Regions from separate parts of the Homo sapiens genome. Here region 1 is linked to region 2. The links are contacts of gene promoters, found by promoter capture Hi-C in human tissues and cell types (Jung and others, 2019). All regions are on one chromosome and are shown on one strand. Each heading gives the region's core, a stretch centred on a gene start or on the middle of the fragment in contact. The rest is flanking DNA. Distances are from core to core; before and after follow the strand shown.

The links. The method cuts DNA at HindIII sites, captures the fragments that hold promoters and counts their contacts. A contact is called where the count stands out against the background at its distance.
Region 1: a contact is called between a fragment that was not itself captured here and the fragment with the promoter of INPP5K in region 2, in 1 of the 25 tissues and cell types used here (dorsolateral prefrontal cortex).

Annotation. Positions count from the first base shown.
Region 1 is chr17:773,450-779,814 of GRCh38, forward strand. GLOD4 (glyoxalase domain containing 4) reads right to left here. Exons shown (of 9, transcript NM_016080.4): 2 at 5,246-5,295; 3 at 3,419-3,539; 4 at 2,326-2,470. Among named protein-coding and RNA genes, the nearest start is that of GLOD4, 5.6 kb to the right of the region's middle. The HindIII fragment of the contact is 5,864 bases long and covers 1-4,648 here.
Region 2 is chr17:1,513,201-1,519,300 of GRCh38, forward strand. INPP5K (inositol polyphosphate-5-phosphatase K) reads right to left here and starts at 3,412. Exons shown (of 12, transcript NM_016532.4): 1 at 3,256-3,412; 2 at 672-779; 3 at 253-361. The coding sequence starts at 3,299. PITPNA (phosphatidylinositol transfer protein alpha) reads right to left here. Exons shown (of 12, transcript NM_006224.4): 12 at 4,518-6,100. PITPNA-AS1 (PITPNA antisense RNA 1) reads left to right here and starts at 3,719. Exons shown (of 2, transcript NR_028514.1): 1 at 3,719-3,893; 2 at 4,518-4,896. RefSeq lists a silencer at 3,498-3,797. The HindIII fragment of the contact is 13,245 bases long and covers 1-6,100 here.

The DNA of each region.
Region 1 (6,365 bases), core at 467-2,966, 740 kb before region 2:
GACAAAAGATTGGAAAGATATACTCTAAAATGTCAGCAGTGGTTCTCTCTGGGTACATGGGTGTGTGTGTTTTTTTTCAGCTTCTCTGCTTGTCTAAGGAAAAAACTTGATTATTTTGTAAAAAGAATAAAAGTCATATTGAAACACCTACTGTTACTGGAAACTTTTCACATTGTAAAGTGACTTTCTAAAGAGCTGTTCCACGTCTCCATCTGACTACGATAAATTCAGTACATTTTTCTTTGGCTTTACTGCCTTAGTCCTGTTTGCTAGAACAGCAATATTGGGATTAAGACGCTGTTTCTCACAAGTGCCTCCGCCTGGCAGGCTCCATTTTTTTCTTTCCATTTACTTCAAAATCAACAAATCCCAGTTGACTTGGAGCCTGAAGGGACGCAGGACAGGAAGTTAACGCGTGGGTGAAGCTGCACAGAAGTGGGTAATTCAAAGGAAAGATGAATGCCAGCCGGACAGAAGGTCTGACCACATTGTCAACCAGAAATGCCCAAGGGGATTTCCATTCCAAAGAACAAAAGCTTCTTAGCACCATGGGGCTCTCTATTATTTTAAGCACTGAAATATCACTAAGGCTGGAGAGAAAAAATGGATGGTGGAGCTAGCTGCAAGCGTTAAGTTTTAAAGTCAGCAAAGGATCAATCACCTATCAACAAAAAAACACCATCAACACCCTTTAAATCACCAGTGAGGCAGAGAAACACCATCTCTCCACGAGTCCCACACAGCCAAGTCTAGCCTCCCACACTGGAACAGACGGATCTTTCTTTTGCTGAGCACCGGATGATAAACAAGGAGCACTGAACATTCTACAGACTCAGCATGGGGGCATCGGGGACAGGAGGCCGACCAGTGAAGAAGGAGAATTTCCAGGACTCCCTTCTCAGGCCCACTTGCAGGCATACGTTCACCAAGTAAGGGAGTCGGCACAAGTGCCCTTGCCATTCGCCAGCATTTTCCCCGTTTTTGCTTTTGTTTTGTCAGAGCAGGTAGCTGAATTTGCAGGCATTAAATACAAAATGAAACACTGATGAGGCTGCCTCTGCAGTCAACAAAACAAACCCTGCAAAGTTTCCTTCTTGTTCTGTGTGGCAGTCAGCGTGGGGGCTCCTCACTTCCATGCCATCCCTGAGTACCCACGCTCAAGTCTGGGAAACTGACCTCGGCTCCAGAGGAGGCATGGCTAAATGGTTTGGGGGTGATCCTATTTCTCTTGCCAGTGATTGGTTTAGGAGCAGGCACAGTATATCAAATCTGAACAGGAAGTTTGCTGGAAGATTCTAGGAAAGTTTTTCTTCTGCTCCTAAAAAGAAAGCAAAAAGGGCCGGGCACGGTGGTTCACGCCTGTCACCCCAGCACTTTGGGAGGCTGAGGCAGGCGGATCAAGTGAGGTCAGAAGTTCAAGACCAGCCTGGACAATATAGTGAAACCCTGTCTCTACTAAAAATACAAAAATGAGCTGGGCGTGGTGGCATGTGCCTGTAATCTCAGCTACTGGAGAGGCTGAGGCAGGAGAATCACTTGAACCTGGGAGGCGGAGGTTGCAAGTGAGCCGAGATTGCAGCACTGCACTCTAGCCTGGGCGACAGAGCAAGACTCCGTCTCAAAAAACAAATAATTTTTAAAAGTTAATAAAAATACTAAAAAAAAAAAAAAAAAAGCTGAGCGTGGTGGCAGGCGCCTATAATCCCAGCTACTTGGGAGGCTGAGGAAGGAGAATTGCTTGAACCCGGGAGGCAGAGGTTGCAGTGAGCAGAGATCATGCCAGTACACTCCAGCCGGACTGACAGAGTCTCAAAAAAAAAAAGCAAAAAGAAGTCAGCATCTCCTCTCCTACCAGATGGGATTGTGGGAGCATGTGGCCCCACCTGCTCCTGGCAGCTCTCCTGCAACCTTGAGGGGACTAGTTCTAGGAGAGGTACCCGCAGAGAACAACAGAACGTAGAAAGAGAAAATGTGGGGAGCTGGTGAATCATCTAACCTTGAAATCTTTCCCACCTATAGAATGCCTGCTCTGTGAGCTAAAAGATTCTATAACTGTTCAAAGTAGTTGGGTTTTCTGTTATTTACAGATGAAAGAATCATAAATCACTACATTACCAGTAGAACAGAACTAGTCTAGATCCCCTACTGCTATGTATTTAAGTTCTGATATGAGAATGTAGTCTCTCCGATAACAGGTAAAAGCACTGGCTGGGGAAGACACGTCACGTGAACACAGACTCTACAAAAAAAAGACAGGCAGCCCTCACTCTCCTTTCACCAAAGATGCCTTTAGACAGAGGCTTTTACTGGTTCTGGTATAATTACCTGACTGAGGCAGACTGCGATTCTGCAAATAGAACTTATATCCTCCCGGGGCCTCGGTTTCAAAAACACCTTCTGCAACTTCCGTCAGTGGCCACTCCAGCTTCCTGGCGTTGCTGACAGCCTGGCTAGAAGCGAGCGTGATTCCCTACAACAAACAACAGTACATCCAAGTACATGATCACAACAGATATTTTACAGAACAAGACAATGAGCCCAACCCCTATTGCCTACTGCCTTTAGGTAAAATCACCTAAGATTTAACTGGCATCCAACATTTTCTTCTAGTGATTTAAAAACAGGTTTTCAATGTTTTATCCCACAAACATTCAGACCTTTGTGAATAATAGGACAGAAATTGAAATGCCAGTGAAGTCTGATTCATTTAACACCAAAGATAACGTCTTCTAATTCTAAAGATCTAGCCACAGAAATCTTGATGTTACCTGGGTCTGCCAGCTAGCTACCTATTTAAGGTGACCTGTTCTTGCTTTTTTAACAAACAAAACAAAAATAAGCAAACTATCAAGGTTTCCTTACATTTAATCAAAGTGCCTAGAAATGTACACGTGTGCTTTGAGAAGACCAGCCTTGTTTCTGGCTCGGTTTATTATAATGGCCTCTCTGCCTCCAGTCTTGTAAATCCATTACCCACTCTGCAGCCAAAGTAAACTTTCCAAAACGCATCCTATAGTCCACCCCCAGACTGCAGCCAGCCTTGTTTTCCCTTTGCTCAAAGTCCGCCAATGGCTCATTTCACTCGGTGACTTACGGCCTAGGAGGCCCCCTGCAGTCTTACCCCATGGCACTGCCGACCCCATCTCTTACCACGCTCCCCTCTCGTTCTCTATTCCAGCCACACTGGCTTCCTTACACCTCCTCGAACACGCCAGATGTTACCTGACGGCTCTTGCCAGAATATTCTCTGCCTGGAACGCGCATCCCCCAGATATCCACGTGGCTAACTCCCTGACCTCTTTTGAGTCTCTGCTCAAATGTTATCTCTTCACTCACACACACCCTTGGCACTCTACTCAAATTTACAACCAGCCACCTACCCCCAGCCAAAACTCTGCTAGAAAAAAACGGTATTTACCATAAAGTCATTGCCAAGCTTGTAGTCTCCGACGCCATAATTGTAAGTCAGTTCTGCGACAAAATGATCATCCTCAGGCCCAAATCCCACCATTGTTTTACTCCATTTCCCATCATAAGGCCTAGAAAATAAAAGTAAATGAACTCAGTGACTACAGACAAGTCAGCCTCAGGCCACCCCCAGAGAACTACTGGGCACAGAGAGATGAGCATTCCTGTCTGGTCCTAAAAGTTCTCTTAAGGATGAGATGACCTCAGATGGTACAGAAAGCAGCTGTGGGCAGTGCTCATGGGACCCTACTACAAGCTCCAAAGACTATCCAGCATCTACCTGAAGGAAAGATTTGTTCACCTTTTCTGTAAAGCAAGGAACAGAATCCTAAAGACAGTTCTCCAACTGACCTGTTATTTCCTTGACTATCAATCAACAAGCATGAAATTCCTAATAGGCCTTGGACTGTTCCAACTTGTCACGGTACTAAGCTTAAGAGATGGACGGGCGTGGTGGCTCAGGCCTGTAATCCCAGCACTTTGGGAGGCCGAGGCGGGAGGATCACCTGAGGTCAGGAGTTCGAGACCAGCCTGGCCAACATGGTGAAACCCCGTCTCTACTAAAAATACAAAAATTAGCTGGGCATGGTGGCACATGCCCATAGTCCCACGTACTAGGGAGGCTGAGGGAGGAGAATTGCTTGAACTCAGAAGACAGAGGTTGCAGTGAGCCAGGATAATGACCCCGCACTCCCACCTGGGTGACAAAGTGAGATTCTGTCTCAAAAAAAAAAAGATACTGGAAAGCCGCTGCTTCATCTAGAGCATGTACTTATTTGCATTTGTGGCATAATATGAAACATATCTGGTCATTGTCCCTGGTTCCTGTCTCAGAGCTCCCAAAACCTCTGGAATTTCCTGATAGGAATATCTTTTGTTATATTCATAATGAGCCCCTTTCAGTCACACCTGAGTTTATGCTAATGAAGTGACTTAGAGTGGGGCCTCTACATAGACTCAGGATGGGGCTGGTCACCAGAAAGACAAATGATTAGAGGACTGAACTTTCAGTCCCATCCACCAACCTCTGGGAAGGAAAGGGATGGAGACTGGGCTCTATTAGGCTTGAACAATGAGACTCATGAGCTTCTGGGATGCTGAACGTAGGGAGGTGCTGGATTGGAGCCTGCCCAGAAGAGCATGGAAGCTCTGCCACCCACTCCCCATGCCCTGCCCTGTGTATCTCCTCTGTCCAGCCATTTCTGACTCGTACTCTTTATGATAAACCAGTAAATGTAAGTAAGTGTTTCCAGCGTTTCCCTTAGTTCCATGAGCCACTGTAGCAGACTATCAAACCCAAGGAAGCAGGAGCGGGAGCCCTGACTTGTAGTTGGTCATCGGAAATCCTGAAGATCCAGACTGTGACCGGCGCCTGACGTGGCGGAAAATCTTCTGGGACTGAGCCCTTAACTTGCAGGATCTGACATTAACTCCAGGTAGAGTCAGAATCAATTAAATAACAGGACAGCCGGCTGGTGTTAGAGAGCTGGAGAATCCCTTTGTGTCCCACAGGTGTTGTATGAGAGTGCAGAGAAATGTGTTCCCGACGCTCCTGAAGTTGCCTCCCTAATTTACTGCCTTCTTAATTAATTCCACTGCTTTATACTCATGAGAGTGCAGAGAAACAGTATGTGTTCCCGACGCTCCTGAAGTTGCCTCCCTAATTTACTGCCTCCTTAATTAATTCCACTGCTTTATACTCACTTTGAGAAACTGTCTTCTGTTATCCGGGTGTAGTCAGAGCCTAAAGGAGATTTTAAGAAACAAGGTATCATACCCATTACAGGCAGCTTTGCAGCCTTCTTCAAATTCCTCATGCCGCAGAACCTGGTGTGAGATTTAGAATAAATTGTGAAGTGTTGCTAGTACTGCTCACAGCGTCTTTAGCACAGACTAAAATGTCAAAACACAAACATTATCATTTATAAGCTTTACTTGTAAAAGAACAAAAGCAAATGAGCTTTACACTTCTCCCAGGATAGAAGCAGTGGAAGGACGAACAGCTTGACACCAAGGGTCAGGCTACCAAATCAGTTGTGAAATCTATTTAGATTGGTAAGCAGTGCTATGCAGTGGGAAAAAGTGTGGCCTTCAGCATTAAAGAAGTCTGATTTGGGCCGGGCACAGTGACTCACGCCTATAATACCAGCACTTTGGGAGATCAAGGTGGGTGGACTGCCTGAGGTCAGGAGTTCAAGATCAACCTGGCAAACATAGTGAAACCCCGTCTCAACTAAAAATACAAAAATTAGCCAGGCGTGGTGGCGTGTGCTTGTGATCCCAGCTACTCAGGAGGTTGAGGCAGGAGAATCACTTGGACCATGAGATGGAGGTTGCAGTGAGCCGAGATCGTGCCCCTGCACTACAGCCTGGGTGACAAGAGCAAAATTCCATCTCAAATTAAAAAAAAAAAAAAAAAAAAAAAAAAAAAGATGGGCATCGTGGCTCACGCCTGTAATCCCAGCACTTTGGGAGGCTGAGGTGGGCAGATCACCTGAGGTCGGGAGTTCGAGACCAGCCTAGCCAACACAGTGAAACCCCATCTCTACTAAAAATATAAAAAATACAAAATTAGCCAGGCATGGTGGTGGGCGCTTGTAATCCCAGCTACTCAGGAGGCTGAGGTAGGAGAATTGCTTGAACACGGGAGGCAGAGGTTGCAATGAGCTGAGATTGCACCATTACACTCCAGCCTGGGTGACAAGAGCAAAACTCAAACTCAAAAAAAAAAAAAAGTCTGATTTGGAATTCTGTCATTTAGTAGTTGTGTAACTCTGAGCAAATTAGAATCTGAGTCTCAGTCTCCTAACATGTGATGGGAATGGATGTTATGAAAGCATCTCACAGAACCCTGCACACAGCGGGCTCTCAACGTGTTAGCTTTAGCCCTCCTTTTT
Region 2 (6,100 bases), core at 2,162-4,661:
CCCCTCAGAATCTTCCCAAGCTGAAACATATCCAGGTGTTAACCCAACCCCTGGAGACTCCAGCTCCCTCAGAAAGGCGAAGGCAGGCAGGGGCCCCGGGGTCCAGGTGGAAGGGAGGTTTAGCCCTTTAAACAAATGGGAAACAGCATGAAAGGCTGAGCAGGAGTAAGAGGAACACATCAGACCCAACAAGCAGGGGTCAGTGGAGATGTGAAAACACAGTTGTCAAGTGCCAATGAACTGGCAAGTTACCTTGATGAAGCTCAGAGGGGAAAGCACATCCATGAGGAAACTGCTCCACGAGTCATTAAAGGCAGCATCGGAAAGGAGGCTTATGATCCCAGAGTTCAATTCCTGCAAACTGACCATGCCAGCTCAGAGGCTTGGCCCCTGGCCTCCAGGCTACTTCCCCTGCCACAGATATTTGATACCATCTTCACGGACTTTCAAGGCCTGAGTTCTGATGGCCATGAGGTCTCCCTCCCCTGCCTGCTGATCTCCAGCCCCCTTTGCCGTTGCTGACCCGGGACCAGAGACATGGGACTGTCCCTGAAGCAGGCTGAAAGCTCCCAGCCTTCAGACTCCAGAGCGGAGGAGGGCAGGTCACAGTGCTTCCCACAGGGAAACCTGGGACTGGTCAGGGATGGGCGAAGGAGCCTGCAGATACCTACCCAATAACATATATGTCAAGATTGAGGTTCCGGTTGTTCAGCTGAAGCAGGTCACTGAGATCTAGAGGGGGCGCTGCCGAAGCCACGTTCCAAGTCACGACGTGTATGCTGCGGAAGGGATGCAGAGGGAAGTCATGGAGGAAGGAGGATAAGATAGTGCACGGGGTCGGCTGGGCGCAGAGGCTCACACGTTGTCATCACAGCACTTTGGGCGGCCGAGGTGGGCGGATCACCTGAGGTCGGGAGTTCGAGACAAGCCTGGCCAACATGGTGAAACCCCGTCTCTACTAAAAGTACAAAAATTAGCCCAGCATGGTGGCAGGCGCCTGTAATCCCAGCTACTCTGGAGGCTGAGGCAGGAGAATTGCTTGAACCCACGAGGCAGAGGTTGCAGTGAGCCGACATTGTGCCACTGCACTCCAGCCTGGGTGACAGAGTGAGACTCTGTCTCAAAAGAAAAAAAAAAAAGATAGTGCACGGGGTCTAGGCCTGCTTATGTCACTGCAATCTGCCACACTCATGATGGGAAATGTGGGTTTCTGTGCTGGTGGAGGGAATGGGGATACTGAACCATCAGCTGTCCGTCCTCACCTTTCTCTGCTGAAGCAAGAAATCCCCACCCCGGACTGGGTCCTCCATGCTGGCTCACAGCCACCCACACCCGGCAGCACTGGTGCTGCTGATATAGCAGAGTCGCCAAAGGGAGCCCAAGAATTTCAGGTCAGGCTAGCGAAGGGTTAGGGGGCTGAACTGCCAGGAATGTATTAATTCCATCAGCTCCTCCAGCCACCCACACCCCTCTGTCATCATCTATGGCTCAGTCGGCAACTTCTGATCCCTACTTCTCACCCCAAGTGTTCCTAAGACCACCAGGAAGATCCTAGGGATTCAGATTTCACCTTGTGATAGGCCTCAGCACTACAAGGGCAGAGGAATTTAAAAAATAAAAGAGATAACACCACCATATTCCCTTCCTCTCTCCTCCCTAGCAGATCCCTGGAGCAAGCCAATTTTGCCAAGCACTTCAGCGAGACTTTTTTTTTTTTTTTTTTTGAGACTGAGTCTCACTCTGTTGCCCAGGCTGGAGTGGACTGGGATGATCTCGGCTCATCGCAGCCTCCGCCTCCCAGGTTCCAGCAGTTCTCCTGCCTCAACCTCCCAAGTAGCTGGGATTACAGGTGTGTGCCACCACATCTGGCTAACTTTTGTATTTTTAGTAGAGACGGGGTTTCACCATGTTGGCCAGGCTGGTCCTGAACTCCTGATCTCTCAGGTGATCCGCCCGCCTCAGCCTCCCAAAGTGCTGGGATTACAGGCCTGAGCCACCGCGCCCGGCCAAGGAGTTTTTAAGTAACAGGTTTCTCGACATCTCTCTTAAGAGTCTATGCTCTATGTCTGCGTAGTATTCCGTGAAAAATAAAGAGTACTCTCTGGGGAAAAGTCATCAGTTGGATATTTTCCACCTCAGCTTACAAGTCTTAGGGAAGCAAGAAAACTAGATAAGGGGCCTCAATGACACTGGATCCAGTCAGAGGCTCAGGAAAGAGAGACCTACAGATGTCTTTAGTGGAACAGTCAGTCACAGCAGCTCTTCAAGAAGCCTCAGACTGTGCGGAGCACAGAGCGGGCAGGAGCTACAGACCCTGCAGAGACCAGGAACAGCCTAGCATGAGTCCTAGGCACACGATGAGGAGTACCTGCAGCAGCTGGAGATCTGGAATGGCAGAGGGTACAGGGGGATGGGAGAAAAGGGCAGTTAATGCCAAAACATCTCTCCTCCAACAGACCCCGTCCTTAGAGGTCGACGTTCTCAAAAGCACTTCAAGAAATTCTTGGCCAGTTTAAAGCAACTTCCTGTCCCTCCCTGTTAGCATAAACAACACTATACAGAAACCACCTTCCCAGGCACTCGGCCTGAGATTTTGAGCTTCATTTGTTTACGATCTCCCCCTGCTGTCCGACAGAGGCTTAAGGAACAAAGACCTTTTACTCAGAGACTTCTTTTCCCAGACTCACTCTAAGAGGATGGAGAGCAAAAGTCCGGATTTCTTGTTCCCACTCTCAAATCCGACGATTAGCAGCAAATCCAAGCATCGTGACTTAGACTAAGTGGGCGATTAGCGTTGTTCCCCGTGAAAGAGCAGGCAAGAGACCAGGCTAAGTCACTTCCCTAAAGGATCTTATCTCAATCTGATTTCGGATTCCCGGGGTTCACCATGGGATCAGGCAGACCTCCTGATGTATGTGCTGATGAAAAGTAGGAAAAAGATTTCTAACCGAGAGCCGAAGGGTGACGGCCTCGTTATGTCTTTAACCTCAAACAACCCCACACGGCTGTCCTCTCCAGAAAGCAACCGGGACACCTGCTGCGCCCCAGTGGGAACGAGCTTGGCGGCCTCGGCTTAGAGGGGGCGCGAGGCTCGGGCCCAACACAGCCCACCTGACACAGGCGTGGGAGAAGGCGAGAGCGCCTCTGAACCAAAGGCAGTCATGGAGGTCTGGTGCCTTGTCCACCCCCAGCCCGCAGCCCAAGGGGCGCCGATCCCCCCGAGCAGGCCTGCCTCTGCCGCCAGGGTGCCCTCACCTGAGCCTCCTGCCTTTCGGCCCGCTCAGCTTCCGCGAGCTCATGGCCGCCGTCGTCCCCGCGCGGTGGTCCGGCAGGTTCGCGTCTCCCGGCCAGCGGGTCCCGGCCAGAGCAGCCCTGCGGGCGGCCGGTCTCACGCGCCTAGCTGTCGCGGACTGTTTTTCTTCCGGACTCCGACCGTCCGCCCCGGCTTCCGTCAGAGACGCGCCCTCCGCGCACCCCGGGATCTGGGTGGTGCGGTTCGCAGAAGGAGGCGGGACTCTCCCACGAGCGCAAAGCTGCGAGAGGCTGAGCGAAGACGGGTTCGCGGACGTAAGAGGGGCGTGTCGGGCCTGTCATCAGCGCACGCGCAACACTGCCCCAGACGACGCGAGGTGTGCGGCCGCCACTAGACCCGGCCCAGCCCGCGCCCGCCGTCCGCAGCTCCCAGCGTGCCCCGCGCCAGGGGCCGTCTTCCGGCGGAAGTTGTCTCTTCGCCGCCGCCGCAGCCTCTGCCCCACTCGTGAGGGATCCGAGGGCTCCGTCCTTGTGCTGTCTTCGCCCCGGCTCCCAGGGGTCAAACGAGGGTCGGGGGTGGGGACACGCAGCCTAGCCACTGTCCTGCCTGGGATCCGGTCTCCCCCGCCCCCCGGCTGCAGGTAATCTCCCCATTCCTGCTACTGCGGGAGCGCCTCCGTTCTCCACGCCCACTTTCAGGCTTCTACTCCAAACTTATTGGATTACCTATTGCATATGGGACGTTTGGGGATTCCTGGACTCCTACAGAATTAGCCGTCAATAAATGAAACGTAGGCCGGGGCGCGGTGGCTCAATGCCTGTAATCCCAGCACTTTGGGAGGCCGAGGCGGGCGGCTCACTTGAGGTCAGGAGTTTAAGACCAGCCTGGCCTTAACATGGTGAAACCCCGTCTCTGCTAAAAACACAAAAGCTAGCTGGGCTTGATAGCGCGCGCCTGTTAATCCCAGCTACTCGGGAGGCTGAGGCAGGAGAATCGCCTGAACCCGGGAGGTGGAGGTTGCAGTGAGCCGAGATTGCGCCACTGCACCCCAGCCTGCGCGACAGAGCGAGACTTCGTTTCAAAAAAAAAAAATAATAATAATAATTAGCCGAGATGGGGTTTCGCCATGTTGGTCAGGCTGGTCTCGAACTCCTGACCTCAGCTGATCCACCCGCCTCGGCCTCCCAGAGTGCTGCGATTTCAGGTGTGAGCCACCGCGCCCGGCCTAAAACTACTTTAAATAAATGTTTTGCTTGTTTGGTAGGGTGGATAAAGAGGAAGATGTGAAGAGGAGGCAGACAAAAGCAAAAGGACATCCTGTCAGTAGGAAACGGCCGAATTACAATTCAGATGTGCAATGTTTGCATAAGTAAACTGACACGGGACTATTATATGCAGAAATCCACGTGCAAAAATTTTCAGACACACCTTTGTACCTCTTCCTAATCCTGCCCTGGTAAAATGGCGGTTATCAGTGCAAGTTTGAGGATACATACAGCTGGAAAATGGACATCACCAAACTGGACTCCAGAAAGTTCTGTCTAGGATTTTATTAGACTGCTTTTTTTCTCAATATACCTGTATTGGAAGATTGAGACAAAAAGGCACAAACTCACATTAAATAAACAAGGTAATCTAATCAATTCTACAAAGTGTAGTTTGTAAAACAAGTAGCACTAGGAACCAACCAAAGTAAGTCAGGGAGTCCCAGCAGGGACTGTAAAAGAACTTGGGAAGCTATACACATGCCCACGATACTGACCCTGTCCCGGACCTCTCTGCATGAGAAGGCCAGAGCCCAGCACCCCTCCTACAGAGGCACTGCTGCTTCTGTTGGGGCTGTGACCCTGGAATTCTGATGGAAGCAGCTGGTCTGAAGGGGCATGGCACACACTCAGGTACTACCCCTGGAGCTGAACCTTTATCATAAGTCCCTCTGAGTGCTAGTCAGTTTGGAGGTGGGTGAGGAGGAAAGGGGGTACTTAAAAGAAGCCAACACTGTTGCCCAGCAGCAACACCATCCGTGGGGATGGAACAGACCAGGGACATCCTCCTTTATGTTTATGTGGGCTGCAATTCCAGATCCAGGCTGACCTCAGCTCATAATGGATGCTTTTCAACTGGGGCAACAGGTGGAGGTGGGAGGAGCCCTTGTTAGGGCTAAAGTGATATGTGTGGGTCTCAAGAGCCAAAGGAAGGAGACTAACAGCTGCTGACCCTCAGACCACATAGACAACTGTCTGCCTAGAATGTCAGTTTGTTTCTTTCAAGATAACCCGCATCTGGACTTCCCCTAGTTGATGAATGAAGGAACATCTTTAAGCACAAATATAATGAATAGCTAACACAGAGCTTATAGGAAAACACTGACATTTTTCTCCAGTAGGAATGCCTCTTCTCCAACTTTCCAAGTCAGATAAATGCTACCAGCAGTTGAGATGCTACCCAGATGCATTACTAAAGACCCCTCAAGGTGAGGAGACTTACACAGAGGAAGGTGTCTGTAACAAGACATCTGGTTCCAAAGGGACCTCAATGAAGGTCAGCGCTAACCATGCTGGGGGTCTGAGTCTGTCCACCCTTGCCCCAGGAGGGCCACAGGGAAGCATCCATCAGGATGTCACAGGTGCAATCCTGTGAGACACTCCCTTATTGCACTTAGAAATGAGTAAGGCAAACAAACTGACAAAAACAGGATACATTCTCCCACCCACTTCTTGCTTCCCGGACAAAGATTTGGTCTCCCATTAGCAGATGCACCCAGGCTAGTGTGGGCTGGGATCACGGCACACTTAGGCCAACGTGCTTCACAAGGTTTGGGGAATGTCAGGTGACACTACAGCTCTC